Regions from separate parts of the Homo sapiens genome. Here regions 2 and 3 are each linked to region 1. Evidence: promoter capture Hi-C in 16 types of primary human blood cells and fetal thymus (Javierre and others, 2016). All regions are on one chromosome and are shown on one strand. The core of a region is centred on a gene start or on the middle of the fragment in contact, and the rest is flanking DNA. Distances in the headings are between cores, read along the strand shown. Region 1 holds the start of VCAM1 (vascular cell adhesion molecule 1). Region 2 holds the start of DBT (dihydrolipoamide branched chain transacylase E2). Region 3 overlaps CDC14A (cell division cycle 14A).

The links. Contacts are between HindIII fragments. The CHiCAGO score rates a contact against its expected background, and 5 or more counts as called.
Region 2: the fragment with the promoter of DBT here is called in contact with the fragment with the promoter of VCAM1 in region 1 in 2 of 17 cell types (naive CD8 T cells and total CD8 T cells); the score reaches 6.4 in naive CD8 T cells.
Region 3: a contact is called between a fragment that was not itself captured here and the fragment with the promoter of VCAM1 in region 1, in 3 of 17 cell types (M1 macrophages, endothelial precursors and M0 macrophages). The highest score is 8.3, in M1 macrophages.

What each region holds. Positions count from the first base shown.
Region 1 is chr1:100,717,923-100,721,868 of GRCh38, forward strand. It overlaps VCAM1 (vascular cell adhesion molecule 1), which reads left to right and starts at 1,820. Exons shown (of 9, transcript NM_001078.4): 1 at 1,820-2,002; 2 at 2,554-2,829. The coding sequence starts at 1,939. The HindIII fragment of the contact is 1,026 bases long and covers 1,532-2,557 here.
Region 2 is chr1:100,247,538-100,251,483 of GRCh38, forward strand. It overlaps DBT (dihydrolipoamide branched chain transacylase E2), which reads right to left and starts at 2,297. Exons shown (of 11, transcript NM_001918.5): 1 at 2,233-2,297. The coding sequence starts at 2,283. RefSeq lists enhancers at 1,466-2,025, 2,026-2,585, 2,187-2,306 and a silencer at 2,417-2,516. The HindIII fragment of the contact is 8,889 bases long and covers 276-3,946 here.
Region 3 is chr1:100,461,306-100,465,251 of GRCh38, forward strand. CDC14A (cell division cycle 14A) reads left to right here. Exons shown (of 16, transcript NM_003672.4): 9 at 1,346-1,576. Among named protein-coding and RNA genes, the nearest start is that of GPR88, 75 kb to the right of the region's middle. RefSeq lists enhancers at 843-1,464, 2,743-2,832. The HindIII fragment of the contact is 1,174 bases long and covers 1,243-2,416 here.

The DNA.
Region 1 (3,946 bases), core at 570-3,069:
TGGGAGGAGCAGGTAGGACTTCAGATGTCATCCAACTCAAAGATATAGTGAGGGACTTGATCAAACATTTGCCAAGACCACTATGAGTTAAATGAATAGATTAGGCATTTCTCCAATGTTGCAAGCTTCGAATCATATCCAAACTCAGAACAACATAGCTTGGTCATAATGATCCCAAGGATCCTATTGGCCATTGTCTTTGAGCCTCAAAGGAACATATTAAAACTCCATAATACCCTTTTGATCTATTCTGAAGTTAAGTAGTGAATTTACATGATGATGACACAAACACTGTAAAGGACCTCTGGGTTACTTGTTTATAAGCTAGTATTTCCTGAATCAATTTTTCTGATCCCTAGATATTTGGTAGGTGAAGTCATACCTATATATCCCCACACCCTAGAACAGCATCTCCAACTTATTTTTCCCTCCTTGTCTTTTAGTGGGAGCCACATCAGTATCCAAGAGGAGATCCAGAAGCCTCTCCAACCAGGTAGGGACAGTTATAGATTCCAGACCTCAGCTATGGCCTTTGTTACAGAGTACAAATGTTATATAGTACAAGTTTATTGTACACATCCCATTGAGTCTCTGAGCTTTAGAATTTTCTTGTAGAATTTAACAGTTTTTTCATGCCGTATTTACATATTATTGCTAGTATTTAGAATTTTCTTCTCCAAATGTATAACGTTTATTATTGCATTTTTTGTATCCACTAAGTGGAAAATCATGCATTAGATATTGTAGAAGTAGATACAACAATGAACAAGAACTGGTCCTGACCATGAGAGGAACTGATGATCCAATGGGGGAGATAGACCTGCACGTGTTTAATAAAAGGAAGTGGCTATTCCGGTTTCTTTTTGATGGGCAAGCATTTTGCAAGGCCTTGGGCTATGTGTGTGCAAGGCTAAGCCAGTTAGTTAATTGGGATTTTTTTAAAAAGGCACTTCACTGGGGGGAAAAGGAACATAGAGTTGGTTATTGTCCCCTTGCCTATAATAAAAACCTATTATTTTTAATTTTTTAACTGGGTTTGCGGTTAAATCTCACAGCCCAAGAGATTTGCCACTTCAGATGGATTCCATACACTTGCATTTAAGTATGCAAAAAAATTCCAATTATCCAGCAATTTAACCAAATTATTGGTAACTTTTCTAAAACAAAAAAAAATTGTTTCCCTTGTTTTGGCAGCAATTTCAGTTACAGTCCTTTACTTTCTACTCAAGAAAATAGTTTCAAAAAGTTGATGTTTGTTGCTAAAAGAACTATTTTTATGAATAAATATAAAACTAAGAAGTTATGGTGTCCCTTTTTTAAAAAATGACTCATCAAAAGAAATAACTTTTTCCTTTCTCTTGTAAGAGAAAAAAATTAATCTCTTTTAGAATTGCAAACATATTTCCTTGATGGAGAAAATCAATTCACATGGCATAGTCGTTATTTATCCAGTTCAAAAACCAGAGTAGAATTTACTACTCTGTCTCCATTTTTTCTCTCCCCACCCCCTTAACCCACATTGGATTCAGAAAGCTTCATTCTGCAATCAGCATTGTCCTTTATCTTTCCAGTAAAGATAGCCTTTTGGAGTCGAAGATGAGGAAAAGCCTGTATTTTATAGTCTTGGAAGTGTCTTCTTTTGCCAGGACAGAGAGAGGAGCTTCAGCAGTGAGAGCAACTGAAGGGGTTAATAGTGGAACTTGGCTGGGTGTCTGTTAAACTTTTTTCCCTGGCTCTGCCCTGGGTTTCCCCTTGAAGGGATTTCCCTCCGCCTCTGCAACAAGACCCTTTATAAAGCACAGACTTTCTATTTCACTCCGCGGTATCTGCATCGGGCCTCACTGGCTTCAGGAGCTGAATACCCTCCCAGGCACACACAGGTGGGACACAAATAAGGGTTTTGGAACCACTATTTTCTCATCACGACAGCAACTTAAAATGCCTGGGAAGATGGTCGTGATCCTTGGAGCCTCAAATATACTTTGGATAATGTTTGCAGCTTGTAAGTTATTTCCCTTCATCTGTTTCAAATGTTAGCATTCAATTTTAGCCCTGGTTTTGGCTTCAGTCAGTTTTGCGATAGTAGTGAAGTAAAGACACTAGGATTTTAAACAGTAGGAAAAGTTAATTTAGTCTAACTTTTAATATGCAATTGAGTTTTGCTATATACCATTGTACTGTCATAGTTAGAGCTGAAAATTGATGTTTTTGGTATCTTTTTTTCCAAAGGCAATTGAGTAATTTGGATTCTGTCTCTAGTCGGTCTGTCTCTTTAGTTTCCTATACTTGACAATGAGGTCAAACTTAGCAAATAACAAAACAGCTTTGATAAATGGGCATCAAGGTTGGAACTGAGAATTCTCTCTACTGAAGATGATTCCATAAACTTTTTTGGCAGTGACTTCGGTGCTTTTTGGCTACCTTGCAGTTAGTTTGAAGCAGCTTAGGAAAGAGATCAGTCTGATCATATTTTAGACATTATACAGAGAAGAAGGAGGAGAATACTAGACAAACTAGTGGTAAATTTGCTTCTGTCTTTTTTTGCTTTTGCAGCTCAAGCTTTTAAAATCGAGACCACCCCAGAATCTAGATATCTTGCTCAGATTGGTGACTCCGTCTCATTGACTTGCAGCACCACAGGCTGTGAGTCCCCATTTTTCTCTTGGAGAACCCAGATAGATAGTCCACTGAATGGGAAGGTGACGAATGAGGGGACCACATCTACGCTGACAATGAATCCTGTTAGTTTTGGGAACGAACACTCTTACCTGTGCACAGCAACTTGTGAATCTAGGAAATTGGAAAAAGGAATCCAGGTGGAGATCTACTGTGAGTGCTTTAGAAAATCTTTGTTTTTCTCTCAATTTTACTTTAAAATCACTTTTTAAAAATGATATTTTAAAAAAAGTTTTAAAATGGATATTCATGTACAGATTCTTGGCTAAAGAACATACAACATCAGGAAAGCTAGGGACAGCTAAGGCCAACATGAGAGAGAGCAGGAATCCAAATCTTGGCTTCTATTTCTACCTCTGCCACAAACACAGTGACCATGTATAAGACTCAACCTCTCTGGGCTCTGGTTTCCTTAGCTGTAAAATGATCATTTCTAAGTTTCTTTTTGTTTTATTAAAAAATATTTCCATTTGATTACATCCTTACATGTTTACTTGCTTATGTGTCTGATTGATTTATGAATTCCATCCTTCAGGGATTTTCTATTCATTTATTCTTATGCAATTTGATGCTTAAAATTAGTTTAAACATTAAGTAGATCTATAATTAGTAATATGTATTAGTATAAAAGTGTTCTTCTTAGACATAATTGTTAATATCTGGAAACATTTCAATCATTTGACTTTGGTGTTGACACATTTAGGATTTTTTTTTGGTTTTTTTGGTGCCATGAAGCCTTGGTGCTCAACCGCTCAACTTCAAAGATATTTATATAATGAACTAGATTTGCCTCATGAAAGTGAGTGGATGTCCCTAGTTTACCAGCCTGACAAAATGCATCCCACTCCATTCTCCATTCAGCAAACAAAGTTAGCAAGAGGAGTAAAAAACTAACCAGACATAAATCATTTGCCTTTTGTTACTGATGGCCTCTCTTTCTAAAAAACTGAACCCATTTACGGTCATGTCTTCATGAAGACCTCATTTGATTATAATTACTTTGGTTTCGTTTTATTGTACCGGAGCTCAACTTTTCCCAGTAACCTTAATTGATTCTGCAACAAACCGCATGTGTTGCTCAAGCTTCCCAAGAAACTGTGCTTGGCCGGCTGCTTTCAATTATGCTGGTTGTATGTGCATAGTTTATGTCTGTGCAGCCTCCCGAGCTCCTTGAAAGCTTCCCTTATGTAAATACAGGGAAAAGTAGCAAGTTCTTATGTTACCTGACATCGAACTGTGTGGATTAGAGGAACATTTCTTACAGAATATG
Region 2 (3,946 bases), core at 1,047-3,546, 470 kb before region 1:
AAAATACAAAAATTAGCCAGGCATGGTGGTTCGCGCCTGTAGTGCCAGCTACTTGGGAGGCTGAGGCAGGAAAATCACTTGAACCCAGGAGGTGGAGGTTGCAGTAAGCCGAGATTGCACCACTGCACTCCAGCCTGGGCAACAGATCAAGACTCTTCTCAAAAAAAAAAAAAAAAAAAATTAAGAGAAACTGGTTTGAGGGTTCAGTTCTAGAGGCTGGAGAGTCTGACCTGCTTTGAAGCTTTACGGCAGACACTGTGAGAAGACTAAAGACAAGCTTTTCTGCTGGGCATGGTGGCTCATCCTGTAATCCCAGCACTTTGGGAGGCCAAGGCAGGCGGATCACTTGAGGTCAGGAGTTTGAGACCAGCCTGGCCATCATGGTGAAACCTCGTCTCTACTAAAAATACAAAAATTAGCTGGGCATGGTGGCGTGTGCCTGTAGTCCCAGATATTTGGGAGGCTGAGGCAAAAGAATCGCTTGAAACTGGGAGGCAGGGGTTGCAGTGAGCCAAGATCGCACCACTGTACTCCAGCCTGGGTGACAGAGAGAGACTCCATTTCAAAAAAAAAAAAAAAAAAGACAAGTTTTTCTAAGCTCCCTTGTGCTAGCCGGGGCCATGTAACACAGTTCTGGCCAGTGAGACTGGAACCTCCTCCTCTTCCACCTTCCTGCCTTCAACATAAAAGAAGAAGTCGTAGCAGCCCTCTTGTATACAGTAGGAAAAGGACAAATGAACTACTAGGGAAATGACGACATTGATAATCATAAGCCACTTAATGTGAGCTGACATCTAATTGGGGATGCTCTGTATGCATGGATACTTAATTTCCTATTTATTGGTTGGGTTTTTAATTGCAGCTGGAAAACATCACGTACATATGAAACTGGAGATTTCCAGGACAGTAGGATATATGGGTTTGGAGTAGACCTGGTTGGAAGACTGGGGAACTTTAGGACTCATCAGCATAGATGGTAACTAAAGCCAAAGAGTGGATGGGATAACCCAGAAAGTGGGAAAAGTGCAGAGGGCCAAAGTCAGAGCCCTTTAGAAAAAGCAATATTTAAAAGGCGGGAAGGGAAACAGGATATTGGGATGAAGTGGCCAAAGATGAAGAAAGAATAATATTGGGAAACTGGTGTCACAGAAAACAAGAATGGAAAGCTCTAGAAAGAAGAGAGACCAATATGTGTTAAGTGTTGCTGAGAAGAGCTCTCTTCTCCTGGTTATCTCTTACTTATCCTTCTTACATCTCAAGTCATACAGTATCCTCTGGGAACTCCTCTGACCCCCAAGTCCACCATAGGTGTCCACTCCTGTGTGTTCCTGTAGTTCTAGGCACTTGTCCCATCACAGTACCTCTCATGCTGGGTTGTAATTTCTATCTGTCTCCCTCTCCTTTGTCCTCCACCACAAGGTTGTAATCTCTTGAGAAGGAAGATATGATGTCTATTTCATATTTGTATCTCCAGTGCCTAACACAGCACTGGTACATAGCAGGCTCTTGAAAGTTTTTGTAAGATCGGGGTCACCAAGGCAGGAGCATCTAGGGAAAGGGAGAAGAGGCAGGAAGAAGAAACACTAAGCAAATAGGGGTAACAAGTATCATTACCGGTATGTGTCAGTGCTTGGTGCTAAGACTGGGAGAAAGAGAAGGAAGTGCAGGGGAGATGGTGATGGGTCACAGCCTTGGTGACAAAAGGGTAGGAATGATATGTGGTGCGGACATAGAAGTACAAGGCAAAAGAGTGACGCCGAGCTGCTCAGTTCTTCGGAAGCAGGGACCCCTGCTGATATTCTATAACTTGAACGGCCTCTTCCTCTACACACTGTAGATTCCTTGAGGGTAGGGGTCGTGTTACCAGTGTTTGGCATACTGTGGGTACGCAATAAATGCTAAACGAATATATCTCTGGATCCACAGCGCCTATCACAATGCCTGGGCACCTGGAAGGCGCTCAATAAAACGCTAGCTGGGCCTCGGGGTACAGATGGAGCAGGACGGCTGAGTCGCTGCAGAAGCGCTTCCAGGTAAGGGGAGGGAGTGGGTTTCCACTCCAGACTGGTCGACTCGCTCCGTTCTCTGCCCTTTATTTTGCATGCATCCCTTCACCTCTCCATCACGCGTGCCCTGGACGCCTGGCACCGGAGGAGAAAGTAAAACACCACTCCTGGATGACTCCGGACAAATCACTCCTTCCCGGCCTCAGATCTGCCCAAACGTGCTTACCAGCTTCCCCGCATTCCTGCTCCAGGTTCTCAGCATACGGACTGCAGCCATCTTACCCCGGAAATGACAACAGTGCCGCAAACTGGAGAGACTCTCCTCGGCGCGGCCTATCAGGAGATGGGAAACGCGCCTCCCCCTGGGCGACCAATAGGGAGGGAAGAAACGAGCCTCCCACCCAACAGCCAACCAAGGAGTAGGGCGGAGCCTGAGCTAAACCCTAGGATCTGGGACCCAGCGGGGAGTGAAAAGAGCCTGGGGGACGGAGGCGGGGCAGAGGGCAGCCCAAATTTAACACTGCTGTGTAAATACAGATGCACCAAAGATAATCTTTTTAGTGTATGTGATGGGGAAAATAGAGAGTGTTAAGGAAACACAAAGAAAGGTACTTACCTCAAGAAAGTTATGTTGCAGTAGGACCTGAGCGATGAGTTGGAAAACATTTCCCCGTCTTCATCTTGTAGTGTAGCCGCCCCAAATACAGAAAATAGAATATTTCTATACGTTGTAGCAAGGCTCTGGACAACTAGTTGTTTCACAAGTCCATACAGCAGTACTTCCCAATGACTGCCTTTTTTACTCCCATTTATGTTTTTGATTACCAAAATTGGCTAATCAATTTTTTTCATGAAAGATGAACATTACCTAATGTCTAAAATAAACATGTTATCATCTTTCTTTTTACAGACTGCTATCAGATGCAGCTAACTAGCATATGCAATACATGTCACAGACACATGATCTTGATTTAGTTGTCTCTTAAAGAAATGTCAAATTCAGGTCAAGTGGAACTGGTAAAGAACAGATCAGAGCTTTCTTTTAAAAGGCAATCTTCCTCAGAGCAACTAGGAAACCAATTCCTGGAAATGTCCAGGATGACATTAGTCTGTTATTGCTTCTTACGTGGGAATGAAAATCTGCACAGATGTCTAAGGAATTACAGAGAAAAAAAACTGGAACAAATACATTTTAAATGCTCAACATTGAAGATTAGTGGTTATGAAACAAAATCTCAGGTATTTCACAACTTCATTGTTTAATATGACCCAAACACTTTTCCCCCTCATTTGCCATTTTATGTATTACACATCTACACACAAAAAATCAATGCAAACAATAAATCTTATTATCTTTTTTGTTTGTTTGTTTGTTTGGTAGAGATAGGGTCTCTTGGGCCAGGCGTGGTGGCTCCTGCCCATAATTCCAGCACTTTGGGAGGCTGAGGCAGGCAAATGGCTTGAGCTCAGAAGTTCAAGATGGGATCTCTCTATGTTGCCCAGGCTGGTCTCAAAGTCCTGGTCTCAAACTGCGATCTTCCCATTTCAGCCTCCCAAAGTCCTAGGATTACAGGCATGAGCCACTGGGTCCGGCCTAAATAGCTATCTTTCTCAGAAAATCTAGAGTAGTCAAAAGAATTTCAAGTTTTTACATTTCCTTAAAAATGTTTATAGACATTATTAATATATTTGATAATCCCACAAGCATGTGTTTGTATAAAAAGCAGTGGCAGTTGTACCTTTGAAGTGAATCATCTCCCTTCCAAGCTGCTGCTATACAACTTTCTTTGTCCTAATTTCGTTTTTAACTGTACCTGCTCCTCAGAAGATAACTAGTTTATTTTCCTTTACCGTCTTCTTATGTCAATGGATTCTTGCTTCTATATTCAGTATAATATGTGTCCTTATCTTTCATTCCAGCATCTGGAAAGAAATACACC
Region 3 (3,946 bases), core at 580-3,079, 260 kb before region 1:
TATATGGACTCCAGCCCCAGTGTCACAGAGCATAAGAGTCGGCTTGGAGCTGAGAGCTGACTAGCATAACAGGGATCCAAGGCAGCAAGAAATACAGCCAAGCACACAGCGTGGAAACAGTCTGGTTCACTTTGCTGGCTGCCGCCACCCCTGGAACCTCCCATCATGAATGGGTTCCAACTGAGATAATTGCACTCAGCTGGTATGTTAGGGTTCAGTGAATTCTGAATGGGTTACAGATGTGGCCATCAGTGTGCTGGGAACTTAGTCCCCTGAACTTTTGGAGCTGCCATTGCAAGGCCTGCAAAGGCCAAAGCCCCCAGTGGTTGCCTTGGCTGATTAGCTAAGGCTAGGTCTGTAACCCAGCTGACTGTGTAGCTCCCAGGAATACTCACATGATGGTGGAGCCACTCAAAAATAAAAGGGGATTTAAAGGTGGAGCATCTTCCTCCCTCAAAAAAAGGAAGTGTCCACAAAAGTTATTGTTTATTTTTAACTAAAAAAATTTATATTTTAATTGATAAAAATTATATATTTATGGTGTACAACAACTTTTGAAATATGTATACATCGTAGAATGGTTAAGTCAAGTCTTACTTAAGTATTCACATATTTATCATTTTTTGTGGTGAGAAGACTTAAATTTTACTTTCTAAATGACTTTAAAGTATATAATACATTGTTATTATAGTCACTATGTTGTACAATAGATCTCTGGGACATACTCCTTTCTAACTGAAATTTTGTTTTCTTTGACCAATATCCTCCCAACACCCCCTCTTTTAGTTTCTTAATCTGTTAAATGGAATTAGCCATACTTAAGAGATGGTTTTGAGAATTTGAAATGATACGCAATTGTGACTTGTACATAGTAGGTGCTTAATAATAATTGCTTCTGGGGAGCATTGTACTACAAATTAAAACTATACATATGGCAAAAAAGCTTCAGCTGTAGTTGAAAACTGTTTGTCAAGTAGAGAATAAAGCTCAAGAGAGAATAAAGTCACCATTCTAGGTCTGTTATGCACATTTGATTACTTCAAGAATGCTTTTGTCTTGGGAGTGGGAAGAGTATGCTCCCAGGATTCGAATCTAGAGGTTGAGATTTTGAACTTTAATGATGTATTTTCAGTACTTACAGAAGTTTTCTTTTTAACCTCCTGTGGTGCTTACAGTTATGCAGATTGATGCTTGTAGGAGCTTGCTGTGACCTCTTCTCTCACACAACACACTTTCCTCCCAAGCTTTGTTGAGATTTATACACTTCATTGTTGAGAGTTTTGTATTTCTGGGTTGTGGAAGATGAAATGCATGCCTTTTGCTTACTGCTCCTTTGTTCCTTTAGGTTATCCTCTTCACGCCCCTGAAGCCTACTTTCCTTATTTCAAAAAGCATAATGTGACTGCAGTTGTGAGGCTAAACAAAAAGATTTATGAGGCAAAGCGCTTCACAGACGCTGGCTTCGAGCACTATGACCTCTTCTTCATAGATGGCAGCACACCCAGTGACAACATCGTGCGAAGGTTCCTGAACATCTGTGAGAACACCGAAGGGGCCATCGCCGTTCACTGCAAAGGTGTGTGCAAGGCCTCGGTGGTGGTGGCTGTGCTTATCGAAGGGGCGGGCCAAGGAAGAGCAAATAACATAAAACAAAACCTGTTTAGTGTCTTAGAAAAACAATGAGGTTTTAAATTTCAGACAACTGGGACACAAACTCATTTTAATAACCCCTTCTTAAAGAAACGATTGCTTGGGTGTGGACAATTGGTGGTGGTGTGGCTTTCTTGATATGCCAGTTTTTCAGACCTTACCTTTCCAGGCCCACGTGCCACAATGAGGGGAAACACAGTAGCAGTGTCTTTAGGCTGCAGGAACACCTTTAAACAGGTAAAATTCTCAAGAGACAAGGGTTGTTAGTTTTCCTCTCTCCTTTGTTTTTTTTCAGAATTGCCCATCTCTTCTCCATCCTCTTGCACTGTCGTGGTTCTGTTTTATGACCCAGTTATCTGGACCCCCATTCCAGTCTCTGCTTTTCCCTCCCCTCCTAGTCTTTGGCTTCATGGAGCAGAGCGTCTTCCATGCCTGTTGCTAGGGGCAATCCGCTAGCTTACAATGCTGCTGATGTGATGCTGCCTCATGGAATAAACTTAAAGAGTTTGTTTTGCAAAAATCTCTGATCTCTGGGGGTGGATACTTTGGGGCAGGAATTGTTCAGACTATAGAAGGTTTAGGATTGCCAGATTTAGCAAATAAAAATACAGGCTGCCTAATTAAATTTGAAAGTTAGATAAACAATGAATACTTTTAAAACAAAAAGTATAAATATGTCCCAAATATTGCAGGGAACATGCATTCTGTATTTTATCTGGCAACCCCATGTCAGCTACTCAGAAAATATGACATGCCATTTGCTCTAAGCTTGTTTGACTTCGAGGAGGCTTAAAATCCACTCCATTCCAGATCTTTCGGTATGGATAATACTGGAAATATTCCAGATATTTTACTGGGTCTTTGATTTCAGCGAGGAGAAATCACTAGGGCCGCCCTGGGCTGGAGCCTCGAGTTCCTCATGTGCAGCTCCTCCTAGTGTCGCTGGGTGGTGCTGTGCTTATGGTTTTGGGTCTAGACCCGGTTTCCCTCTCATTTTATGCTAATCATCTAGTAGGTGTTGGGGAGGGTGCTGTTCTTTTCATGTGCCTAGTGCTGCTGTAACTGACTTATTCAGACGAGTATGGCTTTGGTTCTGACAGAAATTAAAATGCCGTTTTGTAGGCCCTTGTTTCTATGTTTAAGATTTGAGTAGGTGGAGGTACTTTGTGAACATGTGAGCAAAAATGGGAAGCTGCGGTTTCCCAGAGACCCAGAGAGATGGAAATGAGCAGCACGTGGCCTGGGTTTGGAGCAGGGCTCCCCATGCCAGGCTCCCTCCTCCTGGGTGGGCAGAGCTCTCCCTCCCCACCCTCCCCATTAGCTAGCAGGATGGGCCCTGGCTTTGTGGGATATCTTGTCTCTGGCGTGGAGTCTGTTAGGAAGGTGTCACTTGCTGGCTCATTTGTGGGTGCTGCTTTCAGGCCACAGTGGGGTGCCAGTGTGTTGGCTTGTCCCCATGTGATTCATTTGCACCCTGTTTGCTTTTCCATTGCATTTTGTTCAGTATTGCCCAGGTCCAAGAAAAAGCCCACATGTCACGTATTTTAAACAGCAATAGAACTTGAGAGCTAATGGGAACGTTTATATCAACGTTTAGCAGGAGATAATCCTATCTTCTCTTTCAAACTTTAGTTTTGTGCCATAAAAATTGTATTTTTTCCTGAGATTAATTTGGCCTTATTTCTTAGTTCAAGTAGTTTTATTATTACTACGTCGTAGAGTTTATCTGTGGATTAGCCATCCGTATCTTGGATTGACACATTCAAAGGAGAAGAACTGCAAAGCTTTCATTAAAACTCAGTGTGTTTCTTGATAGTATTTCTCACCTGAGAGACCTTGTGCAAAGAAAACTCTCTGGTGTTAAACATTCTTATTACAGATATTTTCTCTATATCCTTGACCTGTGAATGTTTACCTTTTAAAAAATATATGTATTTATTTTATATTGCAAATTTCTTTTCTTTTCTTTTCTTTTTTTTTTTTTTTGAGACAAAGAGTCTCGCTCTGTCACCCAGGCTGGAGTGCAATGGTGCGATCTCAGCTCACTGCAGCCTCTGCCTCCCAGGTTCAATCAATTCTCCTGCCTCAGCCTCCCAAGTATCTGGAATTACAGGTGCCCACCACCACTCCTGGCTAATTTTTTATATTTTTAGTAGAGATGGGGTTCTGCTGGCCAGAACTGGTCTTGAACTCCTAACCTCAGGAGAATGTTGGCCAGGCTGGTCTTGAACTCCTGACCTCAGGTCATCCACCTGCCTCAGCCTCCCAAAGTGCGGGGATTACAGGTGTGAGCCAC